Regions from separate parts of the Homo sapiens genome. Here regions 2 and 3 are each linked to region 1. The links are contacts of gene promoters, found by promoter capture Hi-C in human tissues and cell types (Jung and others, 2019). All regions are on one chromosome and are shown on one strand. The core of a region is centred on a gene start or on the middle of the fragment in contact, and the rest is flanking DNA. Distances in the headings are between cores, read along the strand shown. Region 1 holds the start of TRAF4 (TNF receptor associated factor 4). Region 2 overlaps MYO18A (myosin XVIIIA). Region 3 overlaps MYO18A (myosin XVIIIA).

The links. The method cuts DNA at HindIII sites, captures the fragments that hold promoters and counts their contacts. A contact is called where the count stands out against the background at its distance.
Region 2: a contact is called between a fragment that was not itself captured here and the fragment with the promoter of TRAF4 in region 1, in 1 of the 25 tissues and cell types used here (dorsolateral prefrontal cortex).
Region 3: a contact is called between a fragment that was not itself captured here and the fragment with the promoter of TRAF4 in region 1, in 1 of the 25 tissues and cell types used here (spleen).

What each region holds. Positions count from the first base shown.
Region 1 is chr17:28,741,993-28,745,874 of GRCh38, reverse strand. It overlaps TRAF4 (TNF receptor associated factor 4), which reads right to left and starts at 1,864. Exons shown (of 7, transcript NM_004295.4): 1 at 1,620-1,864. The coding sequence starts at 1,762. NEK8 (NIMA related kinase 8) reads right to left here. Exons shown (of 15, transcript NM_178170.3): 15 at 2,420-3,882. RefSeq lists silencers at 1,386-1,585, 1,606-2,015, 2,470-2,764 and enhancers at 2,470-2,764, 1,788-2,788. The HindIII fragment of the contact is 18,595 bases long and covers 1-3,882 here.
Region 2 is chr17:29,149,317-29,153,198 of GRCh38, reverse strand. All of the region lies in intron 2 of MYO18A (myosin XVIIIA), which reads left to right. All of the region lies in intron 1 of LOC124903967 (a long non-coding RNA gene), which reads right to left. Among named protein-coding and RNA genes, the nearest start is that of MYO18A, 29 kb to the left of the region's middle. RefSeq lists enhancers at 3,304-3,353, 3,374-3,563. The HindIII fragment of the contact is 7,800 bases long and covers 1-3,882 here.
Region 3 is chr17:29,080,834-29,084,715 of GRCh38, reverse strand. It overlaps MYO18A (myosin XVIIIA), which reads left to right. Exons shown (of 42, transcript NM_078471.4): 41 at 2,278-2,400. Among named protein-coding and RNA genes, the nearest start is that of PIPOX, 40 kb to the right of the region's middle. The HindIII fragment of the contact is 3,628 bases long and covers 68-3,695 here.

The DNA.
Region 1 (3,882 bases), core at 615-3,114:
AAAGGGAGGGGACAGAGGCAAGTCCCTAGGCTTCAGGCAGAAGCTTAGCCTGCAGCTTGGGGCCCAGCCAGGGCTGTGGACACCCTCACTTGTGCTTGTACCGTGGCGGGTGAGGAGCAGGGACCACCCAACCACCTCTCTCCCCTTCAGAAGCCTCAGCAGCACAGCTCAGGCACTGGGGGATGGGGGACAGGCAGGGCAGAGGCTGCTCCAGGCTGTGCAGTGGAGGCCAAGGCCCAGGGAAGAAGACAGGATGGGGGGAGGGGGTGTGGGAGTGGGAGAGGAAGAGGGGATTTCCGGGAGGGGGAGTGGCAGAGAGGGGGGCCAAGAAGGTGGTGGAAGGAATCCGGCCTGACGGCCCCCTCCCCCGCTCCTTTCCCGAGGCAGTCAGGGTGGGTCAGCTGTGGGGGGGTCGGGGGGCTCAGCTGGCCTCATCTGGAACCCAGAGGGCCGGGGAAGAGCAGTGGCGGAGACAATGGGGCTGTGTCTGTAGGAGAGTAAATGTGTACACTGCCGAGGGGGAGGGGGCAGTCCTGCAGCTTGTGCCGGAGCATATGTGAGGGCAGGAGCCGGCCCAGGCTGTGGGGAACAGAAAACAAAGGGCCTGCTGAGATTTCCGCCAGTAGGAGCTACGGAGGACCGAGCGAGGGAGGGAGGCACGGCGGGAGGGAGCACCGGAGGCAGGCGTCTCAGAGGTACTATCCCTGCCAGGCCCTCGATCCCCTCGTCCCAGCAAACAGCCAGGCAGTGGCCGACTCGGCCTTCCCCTGCGCTCTGGGGGCATGACCTCCGAAGAGTCGGGGCTCCTTCACCCTGCTTCCCACACCCGGGCCTGAGGGGTTCCCTGCGTGAGCAGGAGATTCAAGACATACAGGGCGCCCAGAAACTTGATGGATGCCCAAGAGCCAAGGGCTAACCTGCGTCCTGAGAGGGCAGCGGGAGTTCAGTAACAACACGAGTGCGACCCCCTTCTTCATGACTTATGGACCACCCGCCTTACTCCAGCCCCCGGGAGAGAGGGGAGCCGCCTAGAGGGGTCCTTCTTCGGGGGAGGATTCAGTCCTTCCTCCATTGTGTGATCATAAGCAGTCCGGGTTTAAATCCTAGTTAAGCCTTTAAGTAACTATGTGACCCTGGGCAAGTCGCAGCCTTTCTTTGAATCTCGTTTCATGATCTGTGAAATGGGAGAACAATAGCTACCGTTCTCTGAACGTTCGAAGAATCAGAAGAGGTTAGATGGGGGAAAGCTCCGGAGGCTCAAACTGCCACGCGGGAGCGGGTTTTGTCCTCTTCCCCCAGGATTCAAAGTTCAAGGCTGAGGCCGCGCCGGCTCTCAGGTGACGGGGAAGGGCCTCTTCCCCTCCTGACCCCACGAGAAGGCGCCGAGGTCTTCCGCCCCGGGCCGGGCAGTTGGGACCCGCCCGGACCCCTCGGATTCCTGCGGGGGGGGCCTCCCTCGGGGCTTGACGTCATCCCTCCCCGTGACGTCACGGGGCGCCCCTGAGGTCACAGGGTCGCAGCGCAGACAAAGGCCCGCCTTGCCCCGGGCCCGAGACCCTCCCCAGGCGGCGCCCCCCGCCCCGCCCCGCCCCCGCTGTCCCCTGCTCCCCGGCCAGCACCTGAGGAACTCCTGCAGGCAGGTATCGCAGAAACGGTGGCCGCAGGTGGAAACCTGCACAGGCTCGCGCATGGGCTTCCCGCACAGTGGGCACAGCAGCCGTCGCTTGGGCTTCTCCAGGAACTTGTAGTCGAAGCCAGGCATGGCGGGCGAGCGGCCGGCACGGGCGAGCGGGGCCAGGCACGCGGCGGCCCCACAGCCCGCGCCTCGCTGGAGCGGCGCTCCCGGCTCCGGGCGGCGCCGACTGGCGGTCGCGGCCAGGGCTCGGCTGTGAAGCCCGCCCTCCGGAAGAGAGGGCGGACCGCGGCCGCGCGGTCCTAATGCGCGCCCTCGCGGCCCCGCCCACCCCCGAGTGCATGGTTTTTGGGTCTGGTGACCGCCAGTCTCGCCCACCCACGGGATCATGGGCTTTTCTTTCCCCTGGGGGACAGAGATCGTGGCTCCGCTTCTCCCCAGAGCCCGCGGGCCCCGGGGAAGTGCGGGTCGGAAAAGGGGACGGGCCGCGCCACAAAGGTTTTCTTCTCCAGAGGCAACAGCTCGGCCTCCGGGGCCGTGAGCAGCCCAGGAACCGTGGCCCCAGCTTCCAGGTGCTAGGCAGCCGAAGCCTGGCAACCAGCTCCGGGGAGCCCAGCTGGGGCGGGGAGGCTGGACTGGGCGCTGGGCCAGAGGAACCTCGGCCCCAGCCTCCGGCTGCGCCCACATTCCTCCCTTGGCCGCAGCCCTGCCACCGAGGTCGGGCCCAGCCCAGTCCTGGGGTGCCTGGTCGCCACCCCCACCCTTGAAGACACCACACTCCAGGCAGGCAGCTGATATTTTTATTGGCCTTCCTGTCCTCTGGGAAACCGGTCTGGTCCCACCAGCTACCCATTCTCTCAACTGTTTCTGGGGAAAGGCATGGGGGGGACGGGCAATCTCCAGCGCGGATCTTTTCTGCAGCACTTAGTGACTCCTGCCCTCCTGCTGGGGAAGAGAGGCAAGCCGACGTCTAGCAAATCCTGCCTCAGGATGAAAGTGTAGGGGAGGTGGCAGCACTCCCGGGGACCGCCCAGCCCCGGGCTATGCAGAAGCTAGGCAGGCCTAATGGCCAGTCCAGGCAGGCCCTGGCTTGCCCTGCTCCAAAGTATGGAGATAGAGTCCCGGTAAGCACCAAATACTTTTTTTTTTTTTTTTTTTTTTTTTTTTTTGAGAGGGAGACTTGCTCTGTCATCCAGGCTGGAGTGCAGTGGTGCGATCTCGGCTCACTGCAAACTTCACCTCCCGGGTTCAAGGGATTCTCTTGCCTTAGCCTCCAGAGTAGCTGGGATTACAGGCGCCCGTCACCATGCCTGGTTAATTTTTGTATTTTTAGTAGAGACGGGGTTTCACCATGTTGGCCAGGCTGGCCTCAGTCTACTGACCTCAAGTGATCCGCCCGCCTTGGCCTCCCAAAGTGCTGGAATTACAGGCGTGAGCCACCGCACCCAGCCTTATTTTCTTCTTTTTTTTTTTTTTTGGTGGAGACAGCGGTCTCGCTATGGTCCCCAGGCTGGTCTCCCAACTCCTGGCCACAAGGGATCAAGGGATCCTCCTGGCCAAAGCACTGCCTATGCAGGTGTGAGCCACCGCCGCCGGCCCAGACTTATTTTCTAACTGGGCTAGGGGAAAGGGTAGGGTCTGTGTGGAGCTACAGCTGCCTTCAGCCTTTTTTGTTTTTTTTTTTTTTTTGAGACGGAGTCTGGTTCTGTCGCCCAGGCTGGAGGGGTTTACGCCATTCTCCTGCCTCAGCCTCCTGAGCAGCTGGGACTACAGGCGCGTGCCACCACGCCCAGCTAATTTTTTTGTATTTTTAGTAGAGATGGGGTTTCACCACGTTAGCCAGGATGGTCTCGATCTCCTGACCTCGTGATCCGCCCGCCTCAGCCTCCCAAAGTGCTGGGATTACAGGCGTGAGCCACTGCGCCCGGCTGCCTTCAGCCTTTTTATGGCAAGGCTCTGGAGGCCACCCTGCTTCCAAAGGCTAGGTCTGCCTTCTAACTCTAGCCAGGCTGGACCCTGGGGACACTGACTGAAGGGAGGAAGGGGTAGGAAGGGCAAAGAGGTGGTAGGAGAACAAAGTGGTTGAGGTTTCCATATCCAAGGCCAAAAGCAGAGCAGGGGTTTTGCCAGCCCTGATACCCCATGATGACACAATCCAGGAGACAGCTGCAAGTCATGCCTTGGGCACCTGCACTTTTCAGAGCATTCAGAGGAGAAGCAATATCAGGGTGGTCCAGAGGTGAATCCGG
Region 2 (3,882 bases), core at 405-2,904, 410 kb before region 1:
GTGAGCCGTGATTGCACCACTGCAGTCCATCCTGGGTGTCAGAGCAAGACCCTGTCTCAAACAAACAAGCAAACACAAAATAATAGTACTTTCCTTGTAAGGTTGTCTTGAGGATTAAATGAATCAATACATATAAACCACTTAGAGCAGTGCCTCAAAATAGTGCCTAGAGTCAGTGAGCATTGGCCAGGCATGGTGGTTCACACCTGTAATCCCAGTGCTTTGGGAGGCTGAAATGGGAAGATCTCTTGAGGCTAGGAGTTCAAGACCAGCCTGCGAAAGATAGTGCTACTTTGTACAAAAAGTAAAAATATTAGCCCAGTGTGGTGGTGCATGCCTGTCCTAGCTACTTAGGAGGCTGAAGCAGGAGGATCGCTTGAGCCCAGGAGTTTGAGGCTGCAGTGAGCCATGATCACACCACTGCACTCCAACCTGAGTGACAGAATGAGATCCTGTTTAAAAAAAAAAGAAGAAGTGAACATTATCATCATCCTCATTAATCTGTCTCTGGTACGTCAGGAAGCACTGGTGCCTGGTAGCTTGGTACCCGCAGGAATGTCACAGGTGCTGTTCCTGTTAATGGCTCAGCTCTGCTCACGGGGAGTGTTGGAGAACTGCTTTATTCTTGTCCCCACGCTGATGCTTATGCCCAAAGTGCCTTTCAGGTAGAGATGGGGAACAGGCCTAAGCTTACTCAGGGCTGCACAGTAATCTTAGCGAGGGATTGCTTTGGCCTGAGTTTCCAATCTGGTCTGAAGTTTGATTCCAGTTTTTAAAATTGGGCTGCTTTCTCTGTGACTCCCTCCAGTCAGATTCTTAGCTGATGGCAAGACCTCTGGAGTACCAGGTGTCTTTCTACCTATTTGTTTTCCATTTGAACAAACTCACCCTACTTTTTGGTCTTTCTACAATTTATTTTGTTTCTTCACACCTGTCTTGCTCCTGACAGCCCATTTAGATTAGGACTAAGCAGGAATTGAGGCATAAAACAGAAAGACAGTCCTGACCTGCCAGTTCCAGAGTCTGTCCTCTGCTCCTTCCACCACCCATATGAGCATGCCTAGACTCTCCCACTTGTGATTTTTACTGCAGCAAAACCTCTCCAGTGAAGTCTCTGTGACGGAACACAACAGTGGTCAGACCCGCCAATCTGTTCCTTTGCTCTTCTGTGGATGCGGGGCTGGGGGGCTTCTCTGAGCCTCCTCTCCAGCATGTCAGATATGTCCAGAGTCCATTCTCCACCGTGTCCTCCCCTTCCTACTCCTCCTTTGCTTCATCTAGTTGGTGACACAGGGAGGTGTCCAGTTATGGGCCTCACTGCTCCATGGCAGAAATCCTGGCATGCCCTGGATGAGGCTTCATTGGCCTTATTTGCTGTTGAAAGTTCAGGATTCTGTTGGGACTTCTGATTCTATAGGAGTACTAACATCAGATAAGTCCTGCAGCGGGTGGCTTGGGGAAGCCCTCAGGCCACTGCATTCCAGATGTCTTACTCGTGCTTGGCCCAGAGAATGCAGAAACAAGGAACCATTGTGTGATTGTGCAGGCACTGAGGGGCTTTCTCCCAGGCCTGGGACGCCTTGGGGTGGGAGTAGGTTTCCATTCAGTCTTGGCTTCTGCTCCCAGCTGGGTATTAAATTGTGACTACAGTCCCCTCCTCCACCTCTTTTGGAGGCCTAGGGAACAAGGCAAGGCATGTGTGGATAGGAGTCTAAGCAGACTCTGGGGTGAGGAAGGGAGACAACAGCAGGTAGGCGGGGGCATCATCTGAAGGAGGCATTGGTAGAGGGACCAGGACACACTGAAAGGGAACCTCTAGACCAGACCTGCCCAACAGAACAATTTGCAAGGGTAGAAATGGTCTATAATGCTATCCAACTTAGTAGGAACTGAACCTTAAATTTTATTTGATTTTAATTTAATCAGAAGTATCCTCATTGTTTCCATTTAACTGGAATTTTTTCTGAGACGGGGTCTTGCTCTGTCACCCAGGCTAGAGTGCAGTGGCACCATCACAGTTCACTGCAGCGAACTCTTGGGCTTGAGTGATCCTCCCACCTCCCCCTCCCAAGTTGCTGGGACCACACTTGGCTAATTAAAAAAAAATTTTTTTTGTAGAGACGGGGTCTCACTATGTTGCCCAGGCTGGTCTTGTGTTAACAACACCTTTGCAACCACAGCAACTCCTGACCTGTGGGCCCTTGCCTGGGGCCCCCTCTCTCCTCCTTTCTTCCTCCTCTCTCCTCCCCAGATGAGCTGAAAGCAATTCCTGCAGCCAAAACTAGCCCTTCCAACCAACTTCATGTTTGACAAGCATCTGTTTCTACAGCAACAATAAGAGCTACAGTTTTGGGATTTTGAAGAAAATGGGCGGGACAAAGGGTAGAGGATCCTCTATAGGGTCTTTCAAAGGCACAGAAGAGAGACCTCAAAATCAGTCATCAAAGGAAGACAAGCGATCTTGCTGCCTAGACCTCCCAAAATGTTGGGATTATGGGCATGAGCCATAACACCCGGCCAGCTTCAATTTGAATAGCCACTCATGGCTAGTAGCTACCATATTGAACAGTACGGCTCTAAACAGCTCCCAGAAAGAAATAGTTGGGTGTTCTTGAAGGTTTGTTTCCTCCTTCAGAGTCCCCCTGGTAAGGCAGGGGATGGTGGCATTTCCCCTTCCTCTCAAGAAGGAAGAGCTGTCCTCTCTGGCAATTTCTACACCTCAACCACCACCAGCTCTGGAATCCTAATGCCCCAGGGCCAGCAGGTCCCTGGCTGTGTGCCACCACAACTGGGGCAGCGCTTCCTTTCCTCGCCAAGGATGTCTTCTGCCCAGCTTTGTAACACACAGGTACTCACATGCCCCAGTGGATTTGGCCCAGGCTGTTAGCACAGAGGTGGTGGGTTGGTAGGCAAGGTAGAGGCTTTTGCTTCTTCCTGTTTCTATGGACATAGGGTTTGTGCTTTATTTTTTACTTCAGAGGGTTTTAGAAACAGGCCCAATAGGGGCTCCAGAGGTGAACACACAGATTCTCAAATATTTATTGGATGTCCAGTGTTACGAGGAACCTGAGGCTTGTCTAGAAGAACTTCTCTGACTTTGAGAATAAGCACCACAGGCCTCCATCTCTCACACCCAGGAAGACCTTACTGATATTTTATTTAAATTGCTGTGGCTGACCCTTAAGCTGGCTTCCTTTTTTTTCTTCTGTGGAAATGGAGAAGAGTTGTCATTTATATGAAAAAGAGAACAATGCTTCATTATGTTTATTCCCTCCTGTCTACCAGAGGGGGTGGATAGGAGAACATAGTGCATGTGGTACATTTAGGAGACCCAGAAGTGACCCAAGTCCTGATGAGATGTGGGGCAGGGCTGTGGAGGATTTTGGGAAAGGATCCTCAAGGCTGGCTCATGGCTTTGGGCCTTGGGGGAGCTTGGCAAAGCAGAGGCAATTTGGAAGTCCCCGGGGGCCATGAGGAAATCCCCAGCAGCTGAGAGACCTCAGAGAGCAGCAGGCCTGCTGTCGGGCCAGTCAGGTGGTCCCTGCAGTCGGCCGCATATGCCTGCCTAGTCTTTGGGGATTGACTCAGGGTCTTGGCAGAGAGGACAAGCCCAGGCGTCCCTACTTGGGCTCTGTGCCCGAAAAGGTGTGGTGGCACATGGCTCTGAGCAAACTGATGGGTGTGCCAATGCAGGGACTGGGTGGGTGTAGGGGCTGGGGGGAGTGTCAGAGCCCCAAGCCTCGGCGACCACCTCTGGGGCAGTGATCTGTGGCTCGCCGTCCCATACCCACTGACCTTCCTGATTGCTTGTCTCTAGACAAGCCCCTCTCTAGAACAGGCTTTCCTGGCGTCTTTTGACCTTGCATTCATGTATTCATTCAT
Region 3 (3,882 bases), core at 632-3,131, 340 kb before region 1:
GACTCAGTGAGAGCTAATGATAAATGTAATAGTGTGTAACAGTGATAGAGGGCCGCTGGAGCCTGGTTGTCACACACAATTAATATCCCCCGCCGTTCTGTCTCCGTTTGTTTGTTCCCCCGTGATTCGGCTCCCCGTTAACTAATAGCACATGAGCCCGGACATAAATTGTATTTGACGTGAGGTTTAATTCCAACCATTTAAAATTTCAACTGCCCTCTGAGCCTGCCTGCCCCTGGAGTTTGTTTACGGGCCTGATTATTTAAGGAAAAGAACATCTTCTAGATGCTTGCAACTAAAGGGAAGGCGAGGGCAGGCAGGCCAGCTTTGCAACCCATCCACTGTTCTGTATGTAAGGAGGAAAATTCATATTCTGGGCCCACAACTGTCTGTCCCCTGTGTGTTTCAACCCTGCCATCCTTGTGTGGCAAGAGCTTCAAGGGCTGATAAAATGCGCATTTAAGATCATATTCTAAACCACTGCCAGGCATGCACACACACAGGTACACCACGCATGCACACACACTCACACACACTGGTGTGTGCTCACATAGACGCATGGGGACGTGCAGCTCTAACCAGGTTCCGGCTGATGGCAGAGAGGTGGTGTGGCTCCTTCCTCAGCAGCTCTGGGCCCCAGCTCCAAGTTATTGAGCCCAGCGCAGTAAGGCAGGCAGAGAAATAATGTTTCGATTTACTTAGAGATACAGTTGTTATTGCCATAACCTTAATGAAAGCAGTAAACAGCACGGTATTAAGGGAGATTTATATGGAAACGCTTTTAACATGTAGACATAGATTTTGCGATGCATACAGCACCTCCTTTCTAAAGGCAATCAATATGGTTATGAACGGTGGTGATAAATTACAGGCTCTGAAGCTAGAGAGGGAGGTTTTTTGCACAGGTGTATAAATCAGGTGGTATTGGTGTTCCATGGGGCCCATGCACCACAGTAAATCTGCCAGGCTCGGACGGGCACAGGGCTTGCATTAGCAGTTTCGAGGTTGTCTGCTAAACTCCTGTTTACCCGGGGCATCAGCCAGCCTCGTCTTTGTTATAATTCTGTATTTGATGGAAGCCCATAAAACATGCCTCTTTATTCCCCTCTCTATGAGTTGGGCTCTCGCATGGTCCCCAGAACAATCTGCTGGTTTCGTGTGTGTGTGTGTGTGTGTGTGTGTGCGCGCGCGCGCACACATGCCTGTGTGGCTGTTTATTTAAGAACATAATTCAGGAATGGAGCCATTCCTCTTGACACAGAGGAAAGGAAATTTATATCGAGGAGAAACCCTAGCCTATCCATAGCAGGGCAACTTGGTGAGCAGACATTCTGCAGAATTTTAGAAGCAATCTTACTCAGAAGCTATCTCCAAGCCCAGCTGCTTCATGAGGGGGTGGCCATGACTCCAGCCTCAGAATTGGACTCCTTTGGGCTTTCTTTCAAGTGCTAAGGTCAGCTCTGCCCGATGAAGCACTGTGAGCAAGGGCTGGGGGCTACCTGAGGACGGAAGAGGAGACCTTGAGCGACAGGGCTCTGGTGTGGGACTTTCTGAGCCCAGCTGGGTCTCCAGGGACAATTTAGATACTGAAACTGTTGCTAGTCCCTCTGGAAATGCTGATGCCCCCCGCCCCCCGCCCCTTTTCCTTTCTCTGTTTCTTAAGAGCCAGAGAAGCCACAGGGTGGATCTGGGATGTGGCCTGGGCCTCCTTAACCTAGAGCCCAGGTTGGTGCTGCCATCCACTAAGGAGACCTTCAGGTTCAAGCTAACTCCAAATCCTACGAAGCCCTTCTCTTCTGCTCTGTGGCTGGCAGCCCAGCTCTTGTAACAAAGGCATGGAAATTGACAGCAGCTATAGCCACAATCTGAGGAATGGCAGACAAGAAACAGCAGAGTAGGCCTCAAGGAGTCACTGAAGAACCCAGGGCTCCTCTTTTTAGCTCAGAGCCATTTAGCTGAAATTGATGAGTGGATGGTCTTTAAGTCATTCTCCCTTGATTGGTCAGTGGCCTGTCACAGATAACTGGCTTGGGAGCTGCCTCCATGCTCCTGAGGGTCTTCTTGGTGGTTGTCACACAGTGTGGCTGCTGAGTGGGGACAGGCTCCTTGTGAATGGTGTGCTCTGTCTAACCTCTCTCATTCCCGCCCTCCCGACTCACCGACGTGCATGCTGCCCACATCCCCCCTGCCCAAGACACCCCCTGCACCCCCATCTGCTCCCCTCGTGGGCAGCAGGTGCCTATGCCTTGTCTACCTTTCTGCTCCTCATCCCTACAGTGAGGGAGACTCTGATGTGGACTCGGAGCTGGAGGACCGTGTTGACGGGGTCAAGTCCTGGTTGTCAAAAAACAAGGGACCTTCCAAGGCAGCTTCTGATGATGGCAGCTTAAAGAGTTCCAGGTGAGCATATGGCCTTGAGCTGGGAGGAAAAGCCACCTTGTGCCACAAGGAATGGACAAGTAGCGCCTGGATCCCATGAGGGCAGGCCTGTGTCTCTTGTCTGGCATTTGTGACTGCGGCCCGGGCATGCTTCTGGCATGTGCATGGGCACAGGAAGTTTCTTCTTAGCCAGGGCTGCGTCGCCCTTATTTTTTCCAGGGAATGTTTTCCCATTAGGCTCCAGGCTTTGGTTTGATGTAAGTTAAATGTCACCTCCACTTATTCATTCAACAAATGTTGATCAAGCTTCCTGATAGTTCAGACCCTTGGAATCAAAACTGGGATGGGGCACAGGGGACTCTTAATCCCACAGCCCTGGCCAGCTCTGGATCTCTGACGTCTTACCGTGAATAGCAGCAGAAGAGGCACCAGTTCCACTGATTCTTGACCCAGTTACAGGCACATTTCTGTCTTTTTCTGCCCATTCTCTCCTTCCTCTAATCTCTTCACTGCCCCCACTTCTTTCCTCCTAATACCCATCCACTGGGGGAATGTACTCCCCTGTTTTCTAGCCAGTCATAGTCCTCTGATCATACAGACAGCTACCCCTGGAATCCAGAGCTTCCCCTTGCCCATCTCTTTCCTACTGGCCAGTGTGGCAGCAGGGAGAAAGAAGAGCCCTCGCTCCCCCCTCACCCCCCACAAAGCCATATCCCTGCTGCCCCCACAACATAGAATCCCAACCCCCTGATCAAGCCCATCCTGATCCTCCAGGACACACCCTTCCTCATCCTCTCCCAGAGACAGCAGGTAGACTGGGTAGAAAAAGTAACATCTCTCCCTCCCTTCTCCAGCTCCCCCAAGGCCCCTTCCCCAAGCCTGGCCCCTCACCAGAAGCACCCAGCAGCCCCCTCTAATTGGTTTAATTTATTCGGCCAAACAACATTTTGTTATTGCAGATAATGCCGGCTTCCCCGCCCCACTGCCGTGGTTCACCACGGCATGGCACGAGGCTCCAGGTAGTTGACAATGAAATAAATTGAACTAAACGTTTAGAGGGGGAAAAGTGATGAAATAGAACAATAGTCTAATTTACATGACATTCTCCATGAAGCTATTTTCACTGACGCAAATTATTTTGCTTCATTTCCTCCGATGCTCTCACCACCACTTTGCCAGGGCTGCTGCCGTTTTCTCCTCCTTTCGCCTCCCTCCCCCTGTGTCTTTATTCTCTGAGTTTAATACTTGTTCCTCTCTCTCTCTCAACCTCCCTCTCTCCCTGCTGCCCTCATCCACGTCTGGTTCTCGCATCCTCCCTCGGAACGGCCCTCAACAGCCTCTCTAAGGAGGCCCCGGGGGTGGAGGAGAGGCCGTCCTCGGTGGTGAGCTCCCTGAGCTATCGGAAGCGGCTCACCCTAAAGGACTCCATCGGGGGCACCGGGGACGCGGATTCGCTCTTCACCTCCCTGAGCGAGCGGGCGGCCTCCCCTGAGAGGCCCCCTA